2 separate regions of the Homo sapiens genome follow, and region 1 is linked to region 2. The links are contacts of gene promoters, found by promoter capture Hi-C in blood cells and fetal thymus (Javierre and others, 2016). All regions are on one chromosome and are shown on one strand. Each heading gives the region's core, a stretch centred on a gene start or on the middle of the fragment in contact. The rest is flanking DNA. Distances are from core to core; before and after follow the strand shown. Region 1 overlaps MED12L (mediator complex subunit 12L). Region 2 holds the start of SELENOT (selenoprotein T).

What was found. Contacts are between HindIII fragments. The CHiCAGO score rates a contact against its expected background, and 5 or more counts as called.
Region 1: a fragment that was not itself captured here is called in contact with the fragment with the promoter of SELENOT in region 2 in 3 of 17 cell types (megakaryocytes, erythroblasts and naive CD8 T cells); the score reaches 7.4 in megakaryocytes.

The regions. Positions count from the first base shown.
Region 1 is chr3:151,130,097-151,136,624 of GRCh38, forward strand. The region is part of intron 5 of MED12L (mediator complex subunit 12L); the gene reads left to right. Among named protein-coding and RNA genes, the nearest start is that of MED12L, 48 kb to the left of the region's middle. The HindIII fragment of the contact is 1,847 bases long and covers 4,046-5,892 here.
Region 2 is chr3:150,600,685-150,608,071 of GRCh38, forward strand. It overlaps SELENOT (selenoprotein T), which reads left to right and starts at 2,637. Exons shown (of 6, transcript NM_016275.5): 1 at 2,637-2,815. The coding sequence starts at 2,679. LOC124900547 (a long non-coding RNA gene) reads right to left here and starts at 2,499. Exons shown (of 2, transcript XR_007096128.1): 1 at 2,260-2,499. RefSeq lists enhancers at 2,426-2,505, 2,626-2,775, 2,748-3,521, 2,796-3,095. The HindIII fragment of the contact is 3,294 bases long and covers 2,109-5,402 here.

The DNA.
Region 1 (6,528 bases), core at 3,719-6,218, 530 kb after region 2:
CAGGACCTGGATATCCAATTGCTTACTAGCCACCTTCACTTTGATGACATCTGAAGTGTCTGAATCGGCATCTGAACCATAATGTATATCAAATCAAGGTCTTGATTTCTTGTCATCCCTTAACTGTTTCTTCCTGACATTTCTTCTTAGTAAATGTTATGTGTAGTTATTGGATGGGTAAGGGTAAGAGCCAAATTGTCATTCCTGGTATTTATCTTTCTCTCAAAATCCTACATTCAGTCCGTCAACAATCTTGTCATCTTTACTTTCAAAATAAAACCAGAATCTGAAAACTTGGTCTTCTGTGTCCCTGCTGTTACTCTGGCCAAACCACCACCACCTTTGCCTGTCTATGGCAGGGTTTTAGCCAATCTTCTTGTTTTTGTTTTTCTTCCTCTAATGTCAGCTTTCCACTTTGTAGCCAGAATGATCCTGTTAGGGCAGAAATTACGCCACCCTTATGCCCAGAATTCTTGCATGGCCCCTTGTCCCACTCAGATTGTGTAACTCAGCGACGCCAGCGACCTGCCTGCACATTCCAAACTCAGAGCTCTGCTGACCTGTGGGCGCGGCTCTTCCTTCACCTGTGGGTGCACATGGGCCTGCTCCCTTGCTCCACTGTGGTCTCTGCCCAGACGCGCTTCCTAAGAAAAGCCTTCTCCAACCACTGCTGCCAAAATATCTCCCTGTTACTGTCTTCTTATTCTGCTTTATTTTTCTTCATTGTTCTTAACACCATCTGATGTTATATTTTTTATTAATTTTTGATCATCTGTCTACATCCACTCCCAAGTACAACACAGGCTCCATGAAGGACTTCGCTAGATTTGTTCAGTGCTGAGTCTCTGAAGACAGTACTTGGCATACACAAGGTGGTCAGTAATCTTTAAAATAAATAAATGAATAATTAGGCCTGAAACATTTATGTTTGTGTGTGTGTGTGATGTGATTACATATTTCTGCATCTGTGTATGTATGTATTTAAAAAAATTTCTCCCAATTGATAATCCTTGAAACTTTCATTATCACCAGCTATATCGGAGAGACTACTCCATTCCTTATGTTCTCTTAATATATATTTTTTTGGTAACATGTTCTTGTCAGTGTTTTTCCTGATGTTCAATTTAATCTGACTTCGACTGCTACAAAAATGCAAAAAGGAAGTGCAGGAATGATTTTTACAACTGAAACTTAAAACGATTTTAGAGCAAATAAGAGTTCAAGCCAGGCATGGTGGCTCATGCCTATAATCCCACCACTTTGGGAGAACAGGGCAGGAAGATCGCTTGAGCCCAGAAGTTTAAGACCAATCTAGGCAACATAGTGAGACTTTGTCTCTCCAACCCTCCCCACCAAAAAAATTAGTAAGGTGTGGTGGTGCACACCTGTATTCCCAGCTACTCAGGAGGCTGAGGTGAGGGGATAGCTTGAGTCTAGGAAGTTGAGGCTGCAGTGAGCTGGGATTGAGCCACTGCACTCCAGCCTGGGCAACAGAGAGAGACCCTCTCCCTCAAAAAACAAACAAACAAACAAAAACAAAAAACAGTTTGATAGATCTTGATAATTTGGAAAGGTTATGTAATTTCTGGGAAATCCCAGATATGAGTGTTTCACCAGGACCACATGATTTCCCCTACTAAATGGAGAAATGGAGGGAAGTATAGCTCCAGTTTCTACTTAAGAACGTTATGGACTTGTTGGATTCATTAGTTTTACCATTAATTTCCTTATCACTATGGCTGGTTGGACTTTGGAGGGTTATTTTTCTCCCCACCAAAAAGTTAAAACTTTTATTTTTTGCATACCCATAATGGATGGATTATTAGGTTTAGTCACTAGCTGTATTTTTTCTTCCTCTGTAAGCCAGATAACATACGATTCTGTTTTTTGATCCAGTTGATTTACAGTATATTGCAGTTCATGGGTTTTTATGATTATTAATGTATATTTAAAATTGTGAATATTAACTCCATGAAGATCAAGTGCCTATAATAATATTTCTTATGTTAGAGTATCCAGGCTTTGAACTAAGACAGGCCAAAGGCTAAAAAGAGAAATATTTTTAAAATGTATGAATTTCAGGAGTTTACCCCTAAGTTCCCAGGTCTACCATCTCAGAGGGAGCTTTGGGCTTTACTTTTATCAGTGCTGCCACTAAGAGACAAGGTGATTTAATGCAAAGTCCTTAGCTTCTCCAGACATCAGTCTTTTCAACCTTGATTCAATCCAGTGTCTGTGTTGCCTTTGTCATGTTTTTTTAGTTGTCTTTAATCTAGAACAGTTCATTAGCCATTTTCTTTTGACCTTGATATTTTTGAAGGAGGCACACCAGTTATTTTGTAGACTGTCCATTGATTTTTCCTTTCTCCAGTTTCTCATTAATAGATTTAAGTTACATACCTTTGCTTGGAATAGCCTGGAGGTGATGCTGTGAATGTATCAGTGTATCATATCCCAATACTGATGGTGGTAACTTTGATGATTTGGGTAAGGTGGTGTCTATCGGATTTTTCTCCTTCAAAGTTACTATTCTACCCTTTGTAATTAGTAATTTACCTGTGTAAATATACAGTTCCTTTCTCTATATTCTTATATGTATTTTAATTGAAAATGAAGGATTCTGTTTATACTATATGAAAAGAGCATGTTTTCCAAATATCTAATCTTGTTTTACTATCACTTTGTTACACCTGATACCTCTGACATTCGCCTTTGTCGTCAGCAGCTTTTTCAACTTTTAAAAGCAAATTATACAGTATATTTGAAAGCATTTGGCTGTGTAGACATAGCCATAATGTAATGTAGCAAGTTTCACACTCCTAGCAAGGGATACAGCCAAGGGAGTACACACATATATATGTGTTGAATTGGATTAAATCACATACACTTCAGAAGATTAACTTCTAGTAATAGGTTCTGTGTTCTGGCATTGATAGCAAAAAGAATCATTCAGCACGTTTGGGAAAAGATTGACTATCAAGTGTCATCCTTTTCTGGCATTGGTTTTATGACTTCCGTTGTCTTGATGATTGTTATTAGGATTTGTAAAGTGTTTTCGGTAGAAATGACTTTTATTCCTTTGTAATAGAAACGTGTTTTATTTTCAGTTCCTACTTTCAGCATTGGAGCAGAGCTATAAAGCACTGCTGTTTGATTTTATTGAAGGGAACTTTTCCCAAAGTTAAGTGGGCTCACAGCAACAAGGAGCAACACAGAGATCCTTACTGTCGTTATGCAGAGAGTTACAGATCTCAAATGTAGATTAAATGGGTTGCTGCCCTGGGGAGCTTGCAGTCAGCAAAGATGTACCCAGTACACTGTATACACAAAAGTGAGAGGAGTGAGAAGCGCCTTGGGTTTCTGAGTGAGGTCTCATGTGTAACTTCAAAGTGGGTAATGAAATATTTGACTTGGACAAATCTGAGTATCAGGACAGAGATTTTAAATAGAGGGGAATTAGGGAAGCCTGAAAGAAGAGTTTGTAATTCTTAGTCCTTGTGAGACCTGAAAAAAAAAAAAGGTTTAGGTGGACACGATGTTTAGAAAATGTCATGAAATAGTTGATGTTGCTACTTGAGGGAGAGTACGCCAGAAATAATGCATGTTCGGTTTCAGATATTTTTAGAGTTGAATTAAGTTTCATTTTTAAGAGAACAAGATTGTTCAGCTGCCTTAAATATTTTGAGCTCACCAGAGAAAATTATTTAAAACAGGCTAGCTAATACTTAAAAATGAAAAAGTAAAACTCACATTGAGTTATGCAATTGAAGTCTTTGAACAGATTAGGAAATATGACTTTATAGTAAATAACGGAATTTTGTACATTTATTTATAGGAATTTTCCCCATGAGGAGTCTTATTGTTGCTGAATCAACTAATAATAACTACAGCATTTATTGCTGTTATTGCTGTCACTGTTAACAGCATTTCTTGAGCACTTATGGAATCCCCGGTATTGTGATAAGCAGGGATACGGTGCTAACTGCATTTCAAGGTTGAATCAGCTCCCGATGTGTGCTGGGTAATGATCTAGGTTGTTTGGAGAAGCTTGTCAGCCATGGGAATGCCCCATCCCTTGCTGTTGTGGGGTTGTTTTTTTTTTTTTTTTGGCCTGTTTGAAAATGGTCAGTCCCTCACCAGGTCTATTGGCTCTCTGCCACGGTTCTTCTGTTGTGCAGTGATACAGTGTTCCCCATTTCATTAGTAAATGTTTGCTGGGTTCTATGTATATTTTGTCCGTTTTATGACTTATTATTCAGATAGCCTGTGAAAGAGATACGTTATTCTCATTTCGTGGATGAGGATGGTGATGTGCAGGTGGTGCACAGAACCCCTCAGCGTAAGTGTCCAAACTTGGCTCCAGAGCCTGTGCTGGACACCACTGGTCAGTGAGGACAAGAGTGTGACAGTGTAATCACTGCCCTCTAGGTATTTGCAGTATGAGTAGGGGACATGCATCCAAACAATCAAATATTAGAGAAGGAAGACTTCATAGTGACAGGAAGAAAATACAGAGGAAGTCTTAAGGAATAAGCCACTGAGGGAACTTGGGACATCCAGGAGATTCACAGAGGAAGTGACTTAGGTGTATACTTTTGCAAGAAGAGACGCTTCCTAGGAGGACACAGCTGGAGTGGGCTGTTGTTCAGGGAAGGGCATTTCTGACAGAAGGATGAAGTCTGCAGAGAAATACGTTATCAAATAGTTTGACTTGTTGCACCTCCAGGATTTAACTTCAGCTTGAGCATCAGTTACCAGTGGGGAGGTGCTGAAAGCCTGTGTGAAGGTTTGTTTGCCAGAGTGAGATATGTGAGTTCCCTCTGGTGCATGATGAAAAGCCATGGAAGGGTTTATTATTACTATTATTGTTATGACTCTTTCCCTCAGTTTCTTGTCTGTAAAAAAATAAGGATAATTGACAGTACTTATTTATTTATTTATTTTTATTTGAGATGGAGTCTCCTCTGTTGCTCAGGCTGGAGTGCATTGGTGTGATCTCGGCTCACGCCAACCTCCGCTCTCAGGTTCAAGCAATTCTCCCACCTCAGCCTCCCAAGTAGCTGGGATTACAGGCACCTGCCATCGTGCTCCTCTAATTTTTGTAGAGACGAGGTTTCACCATGTTGGCCAGGTTGGTCTTGAACTCCTGACCTCAGGTGATCTGCCCACCTTGGCCTCCCAAAGGGCTGGGATTACAGGCGTGAGCTACCACACCTGGCCTGATAGTACTTTTTAAGAATGAAATGAATCGATACCTTTAAAGTGTTTAGAACAGTGACTGGCATACAGTAAATGTAGACCATTGATAATATGCGACAACTGCTACTTAGAACTGCTGTTACCAGCCAGTATTTATTGATTATCCTGTGTTACTCCGTTGGGAACTTTGCAGACTTTATCTGTAACCTTGCAATGTAGGTTTCATTATTCCATTTTGTGTATGAGGGACCTGAGTCTCAGAGAAGTTAAGTAACTTGCTGGCCTAGATGGAGTTGGATCCCTGCCCAGGCACCTGCCACTAGAGTGCCTGCTCCTCACTCCTCGCTGTGAGGTGATAGCTGCTGGTGGCCTGTGTGTGGTGTGGGTCTGGGCCACTGGAGGCAACAAGCATCTCTAGGTGGAAAGATGCTGGCAGGAAGCAGGCTGCGGGACTGGTGGCTCTGAGCAGCATCTGAGGAGTCAGAACTCTTGTTCTCATGGGTGCTATGGGGAACAGGAGGAGCAAAGCAAAGTCCAGGGTGCCATGGCAACTAGAGAAAGAAATATGAAACTGCTTGCAAGATGAGCAGCCTTAATTCTGCCTAGGAATTTTTGGGTATTCAATATGGTGAAAAGTGACAAGACATATCATGCGCATGAGGTCTTTTTTGGGGGAACAGATAGATTCAAAGAAGCTTAAAATGCTTCGTGGTTAAACTGCCTGGGGCACTGCTCTGTTTACCCCTAGTCATTTCCTCTGTGCCACCTGAGGTTTTGTGGGGATTTGAGTCAGATGAGAGACTTTTCTTGGTTGACTATACTCTTGTAACCACTATCCTTATCGCTCCCAAAATACAAAGAATAAACAGCCACCCTTCTTTCACAGTGGGTAATTAATTTGTGACATATTCACTGAGCCATTTGGACTGCAAAAATAAGTCCTGCTAAACTCATAATTGACAGTCTGGTTTCTTATCTAAGCCTACCAGCTTACTTGCAGTTTGGGTCTGTGAAGACATTGCATACTAACTTTTTTGATTCCAGGGACAAGCGTTTAGTTTTGTCAAGATTGCCTCCACATTTTCACAGTGTTCCTTCTATCTCATTTGTCATAAAGGCGATATCTGCCTTGTTTATGCTGAAAGTAATCCTGAAGATTGGACAGAAGTGCTTGTATAAGCTTAGTTTAAATTCACACTTTGCTTAGGCATGAAAAATAGGTTTTAACCGGTGAGGTAACTCTGGCTATCTGGTAAAAACCATTCTCCAATAGAAGGAATGGGGCTATTGGGGGTGAGACTTTGGTACCTGCAGCTATTCCATTCCTCA
Region 2 (7,387 bases), core at 1,387-3,886:
GTAGGAAAATAAGTAGTTATTGAGACCACAGGATATTTGAACACTGACTAATATTACGCAATTACTATTTTTTAAAGGTGAGACAATGATACTGTGTGTCAGGCCTCTGAGCAAGGCCGTACTTCCAAAGGAAGTGGAGTCTCACTGCAACAGCCATCACAAGGCATCAGATCTCACTGCTCAAGGCAACGCTTATGCTGATAAGGTAGCTAAAAAGCAGCTAGCATTCTAACTTCTATCCTTCATGGCAGTTTTTCTCCTTCTCATCTGGTCACTCCCACCTACTCCCCCACTGAAACTTCCGCCTATCAATCTCTTCCCACACAAGGCAAATGGTTCTTGGACCAAGGAAAATATCTCCTTCCAGCCTCACAGGCCCATTCTATTCTGTCGTCATTTCATAACCACTTCCATGTAGGTTACAAGCTGCTAACCCGTCTCTTAGAACCTCTCATTTCCTTTCCATCGTGGAAATCTATCCTCAAGGAAATCACTTCTCAATGTTCCATCTGCTATTCTACTACCCTGCAGGGATTGTTCAGGCCCCCTCCCTTCCCTACACATCAAGCTCGGGGATTTGCCCCGCCGAGGACTGGCAAATTGACTTTACTCACATGCTTCAAGTCAGGAAACTAAAATACCTCTTGGTTTGGGTAGACATTTCACTGGGTGGGTAGAGGCCTTTCCCACAGGGTCTAAGAAGGCCACCGCGGTCATTTCTTCCCTTCTGTCAGACATAATTCCTCAGTTTGGCCTTCCCACCTCCTCTCTTTCCTTGAAAATCACTGAAGCCTCGACTTACTCACTGCTGAAAAAGGAGGACTTTGTATATTTTTAAATGAAGAGTGTTGTTTTTACCTAAATCAATCTGGCCTGGTATATGACAACATAAAAAAACTTAAGGATAGAGATAGAGCCCAAAAACTCTCCAACCAAGCAGACAACAACGTTGAACCCCCTTGGACACTCTCTAATTGGATGTCCTGGGTACTCCCAATTCTTAGTCCTTTAATACCTATTTTTCTCCTTCTTTTATTCGGACCTTGTGTCTTTCATTTAGTTTCTCAATTCATACAAAACTGCATCCAGGCCATCTCCAATAATTCTATACGACAAATGCTCCTTCTAACAACCCCACAATATCACCCCTTACCCCCAAATCTTTCTTCAGTTGAATCTCTCCCACTGTGGGTTCCCACGCCGCCCCTAATCTCGCTCGAAGCAGCCCTGAGAAACATCGCCTATTATCTCTCCATACCACCCCCAAAAATTTTCGCTGCCCCAACACTTTACCACTATTTTGTTTTATTTTTCTTATTAATATAAGAAGACAGGAATGTCAGGCCTCTGAGCCTAAGCTAAGCCATCATATCCCCAGTGACCTGCACATATACATCCAGATGGCCTGAAGCAACTGAAGATCCACAGAAGTGAAAATAGCCTTAACTGATAACATTCCACCATTGTGATTTGTTTCTGCCCCACCCTAACTGATCAATGTACTTTGTTGATCAGTAATCTCCCCCACCCTTAAGAAGGTTCTTTGTAATTCTCCCCACCCTTGAGAATGTACTTTGTGAGATCCAACCCCTGCCCCCAAAATATTGCTCTTAACTCCACCGCCTATCCCAAAACCTATAAGAACCAATGATAATCCCACCACCCTTTGCTGACTCCCTTTTCGGACTCGGCCCGCTTGCACCCAGGTGAAATAAACAGCTGTGTTGCTCACACAAAGCCTGTTTGGTAGTCTCTTCACACGGACATGTGAAACACTGTGGTCAATTTTTTTTCTTTTTAATAATAATTCTTTTTTAGAAATATGTGCTTAAATAATTGTAAGCCAGGCATAGTTGCCTGTGCCTGTATTCCTAACCACTTGGGAAGCTGAGGCAGGACTGCTTGAGCCCAGGGGTGTGAGGCTGCAGTAAGCTATGATCACGCCACTGAACTCCAGCCTGGGTGACAGTGAGACCGTGTTTAAAAATATATATATACAGATGAAATGATATGATGTCTGAGATTTGCTTCCAAATATGCCTAGGAAGGGAAGAAGTGTTTAGAGATATAGACAAATCAAGATTGTCAAAATGTATAGTAACTGTTAAAGCTTGCTAAGGTAGTTATTCTATTTTTGGATATGTTTGGAATTGTCCAAAGGTTTCCTAAAACTTATGTTTAATATTCTTTCAGGAGAAAGCAATATTGTAAGATCAAAGAAAAGGCCATAACAGCGCACCCAAAAAATTTCAGCATTACCATTCTGAGGGTCAGGAGTCTCCTCCCTTCCATCCGCCAACACTTGAATCAGGACTATAAAGTAGGTGTTTCCAAGTCTCAGGCAGGTAAATGGATAAATTGCAAAACTGGATGCAGAACTCACATCTGCCTCATACATAGGCCCTGTGACACCCCACCAGCTCCTTTGCTCCCTTTCTGCCTTTCTCATGCCGTCCCAGAGTCTTGCACACTACCAAGATGGTGGTGAGTCAGGACAGTGAAACAGGTCGGCTCTTCACTCCAGGAGTGTGCGCGGGCGCCGGGCCGCGCAGGCGCATTACTGCTCCCCTCCCCCGACCTTGGCTGATCGCGCCTGCGCAGTGGGGAGCAGCTCGCTCCTGGGCTTTGGGCTGGCTGCAGTCTGTCTGAGGGCGGCCGAAGTGGCTGGCTCATTTAAGATGAGGCTTCTGCTGCTTCTCCTAGTGGCGGCGTCTGCGATGGTCCGGAGCGAGGCCTCGGCCAATCTGGGCGGCGTGCCCAGCAAGAGATTAAAGATGCAGTACGCCACGGGGCCGCTGCTCAAGTTCCAGATTTGGTGAGTATGTGCACTGGGCCCCGGCCACCCCGCCGCGCCTCTGCTCGGCGCCATTGGCTACGCGAGGCCCCGGCTTCGCGGCCTAAATGGCCGCATCTTCGCTGGCCTCGTAGAACTGTGCCGGCGCCCTTCCACAGCCAGCCTTCTCGCGGCCCCTTAGCGCGGTCAGGCCGCCCTCCTTTTCCAGGTATAACTGCTCACTTGTTTTTTGCCTCCTAGAACAGTGGGAATGGGGAAGGAGGGCGCGAGAAGGTTAAACGCTGAAAGGCGAAGACTGGGGGACACCTGTTAGTACGGAGGACTGGTTGGCGGCGTCACGCCATAGCCACCCCGGCTGCCTGCGGAGATGGGGATGAGTAGGCGCCGCGTCGGCGGAGGAGCGCCAACCGTTTGTCAGTTCACTTTTTCTGCCCTCTTTTCCGGGGTAATGCCGGGCGGCTTCGCTGCCTGGCTAGATGAAGGTTAATTCGGGTCATTGGAGAGGATCCGGGAGTGACAGACGCCGTTTTTCTCCTGAACTTGCTGGGGGGACTGTTGAGTTTGCGAATGGGGCGTCTGACAGCTGGAGGGGGTGGAAGGAAGGTCTGGGGATGCTGGTTCTGTTTGCCATTTCCAAAGTGTCAGAAAAGGAGCACGTTGTTCTTCTAAACATTGACAGTTCGCTCGCATTCCCTCCTCACCTGCCTCCCAGGAGTTGCCTGCTCTGGCATCTCTTTCTACCTTTCAGTTGTCTTGTGTATCCAGCAGATCTCGGCAGTTTTCGACAGTGTTCTTTAAATGATTTTGTTTTTAACCTAATCGTTAGAAGCAGGGCAATGATGCATTTTATACGGTAAGTGGGGTTGCGGGTGGGGATTGAAAGGCTCTGAAGATGGGGGAAAAAACACCAAAATTGTAAAATTATAGAAATGAGAATCTTACACCTCCAAAGATGACATTTTCTCAGGATAAACCGACCATCCCAGAATAGCCAGATTAGTAAATCATCAGAGTCCGGATACATTGGAATGTTGGTGTTGGACATCATTCATTTAAAACCTTCTTTTAAGAACTTCATGTATTAGTATATTAAAGTTTTGATTTTCTACTTCTCCAACTAGCTTTTTACTTACTCACTGAAGACCAAGCAAACCTTTAAAATAATTTTTAAAAATCGGCTTAAGGTGATGTTTGAGTTAGAAAATAAGATGGTGAGACTTTATTTTTTTGAGTGAAAACTAAAACATTGCAATTTCTCCTGATTAAAAACAAACAAGGCCGGGCTCGCTGGCTCACGCCTGTAATCCCAGCACTTTGGAGGCCGAGGCTAGCGGATCACCTGAGGTCGGGAGTTCGAGACCAGCCTGACCAACATGGAGAAACCCCCATCTCTACTAAAAATACAAAAATTAGCCTGGCGTGGTGGCGCATGCCTGTAATCCCAACTACTTGGGAGGCTGAGGCAGGAGAATCGCTTGAACCCGGGAAGCGGAGGTTGCGGTGAGCCGAGAACGCGCCATTGCACTCCAGCCTGGGCAACAAGAGCGAAACTCCGTCTCAAAAAAAAAAAAAAAAACCTCCCTGTACAATGTACTATGTTTCTGGAATATATCATCTTTCATGTAATACTGCAAATGGGAGAATGGTTTATCCATTAACTTTTTTCCTTAATTTTTAAATTAGAAGGTGGTAATCATCTTACTAACCTAAAGATTGTTAAGGGTTGTGATACTTACGGATTTAAGTGTTAAAAAATTGCAGTTTTCAAATTATTTAATTTTTCTGTATCCTACTTTTATCTCTTGGTTGTATTTTTGCTTTTCCAAAATACCCCTTTTACGTTTGCTTTTTTTGGAACACTTGTCACAATAATTTACCAGGTGTATCTTCCACCAAGGCTATTCATAGCAAGGTTTTCAAAATGTGTAAACAAACGTAGGGAAGGGCATTCAGTCCTTCAAATTAAACTTAAAAAAAAAGTAGTAAGTACTTCAGTTAAACTTTTGATACTTTGTTTTTCTTTGTTTTTAAGTACAGACCTGTCCCAAAAGTCTAATAATTTTCTTTTACAGTCACTCTGAGCATGTTATATAACAAAAATGCTTCCATTTAAAAAATTATTTTTATTTTTATTTTTCTGACACTATCCACCGGAGATCATTTTTTGTTTAATCTGTAGATGGGAAATAACGTTATTAATAAGACCCACCAAATACAGATCAACTTAGCTTGTTGTTTGTTGCTTTTCCCCCCAGAGATTAATCTGTTTATGGTAAAGTGAATATTGGGTTTCTGGTTTTGCTAGAATCTTGTGGACATTAATTTGCAAGTTTGTTTGAGAAAGGACAGGAAGCTAATACGTTTGAGGATAAACATGAGAATTTTAAAATTCCATTTGAAGTCAGTATTATAAAATGCAGCTTTTCATTAATTACCACTGCTAACAATCAAAAGAGAACTATTTTACCTTCATTTCCACTGACTTTTTCCCCTTATAGTGATCATGAGTATTTTATCAAAAATAACTATACCTCAATATATCACCTGGTAATTGTACCACTTTTGCAATTGTTAGTCAACACAATAGCAACATAGTGCTGAGAGATCAAGCTTGTAGAGTAGCTTACGACAGAGTTTCCTATTCTCGTTTTTTTTTTTCCTTTCTTTCTTCCTTTTTTTTTTTTTTTGCTGAGACAGAGTCCCGCTGTGTCACCCAGTTTGGAGTGCAATGGCATGATCACGGAGCCTTGACTTCCTGAGTTCCGATAATCCTCCCACCACAGCCTCCCAAGTAGCTGGGACTGCAGACGCGCACCACCACGCCTGGCTAATTTTCATATTTTTTGTAGAGACCTGGTCTTGCCTTGTTGCCCAGGCTGTGTGTAATACCTGCTGTATGCCAGGAATTAAGCATGCTAAAGATGTGACCATCTCAAGAAGTCTACCAGACTGGCACAGTATTACTTGTGTATCTGAGTCTGTGGTTTATTATGTTGATTGAGCAATATAATTAGATACTTTTGATTATATTGGCTTCATACTTGGAAAAAAATTTATTCTGCTTATTTGGACGTTTAACACTTAACATAGAAAAAGGAAGTTCTCTAATCAGAGCTTAAAATTCCATTGTTTTTGAGACAGTGTTGCTTTGTTGCCCAAGCTAGAGTGCAGTGGTGTGATCTCAGCTCACTGCAACCTCTGCCTCCTGGGCTCAAGAGATTCTCATGCCTCAGCCTCCTGAGTAGCTGGGACTGCAGGTGTGCACCACCACGCCTGGCTAATTTTTGTATTTTTAGTAGAGACGGGGTTTCACCATGTTGGCCAGGCTGATTTTGAACTCCTGACCTCAAAGTGACCTACCCACCTTGGCGTCCCAAAGTGCTAGGATTACAGGTTTGAGCCACTGCCCCCGGCTGAAATTCCCTTTTTGTGTTTTCCTTTTATTGATTTTTATAAATTTGTATTGATAGTTACTCTTAGGCATGATGTTTGTCATACATACTTTCTCCGTATATGCGATTTAACATGTAATCAGATCTACAGCATTTAATTAGTTGCAGTTTAAAGAGATTATTGGCTACAACCCTTTACAGTTAATATTTACTTGAACATTTGACAACTGAATTGCTGAGAATAGTAGATTAAATGAAATTGAGATTTCAAAACATAAGTAGAATATGGCGGGATTTTCAAAGTTTTGTTAGTTTGAGAATCTACTGCTGTAATTTTAGGACAGCCAACTTCTAAATGTAGTTTTAAGAGGTAAATGAAACAACTGTACCAAAACAGATTTTTATTTAAATTTACAACTATTCAGCCTTGGCTTTCATAGTGTGACAGCAAGAAAATAAAGACCTAAGGTTGATTTGGATGTTGATACTCATCAAGATTAGTAGTAAAATGCTGAATTGGAGAAATTGTGAGTTACAGAGATCATGTTGGTTACTGTAGACTTGATATTTGCATATTCAACAGATATTGGAGCACTTACTCTGTGCAGGCACTTTGCTTCCTGCGGAGAATTCAATTCAGTGCTCTCGTGGACTTCACAGGCAAGAGCAGATGCAGACATTAATCCATGGACTGACCACACAGATAAAATTCAATTGGTGTTAAGTGCTGTGAAGAAAGATTATGTGGTGGTATGAGAGATGCCTAGTCGGGATCAGGGAAGGTTTCCATGAGGAAATGAACTTTGAACTGAGATTCGAAGGATAAGATTTATTTGGCGAGAACTTTCCAGGCAATGGGAATAACATGTTCAGTGTACTTATAGTAGGAAAGACCACAGTTTTACCAGAGAAGCCTAAGCCTACTGACCTCAGAGACCTAAAAGAAGGTGCCGTTAAGAGCTTGAGGGTCTGGCAGGCCATGCTTAACAAAGACCGTTTGGTTTTCTTGTGGAAAAGACATTCCAGGAGACAAAGAATTGATGGGAAACCATTTAGGGCGGCTTTTGGAGTTGTCCAGGCAAGAGATAATGGAACTTGGAAAAGTAAGGAGGTGGTAGAAATAGAAAGAGATGTATTTGAGAGATCTTTATGTGGTAAATTTAACAGCTCTTAATGATGAATTGTATGTTTGTGGGGAAAG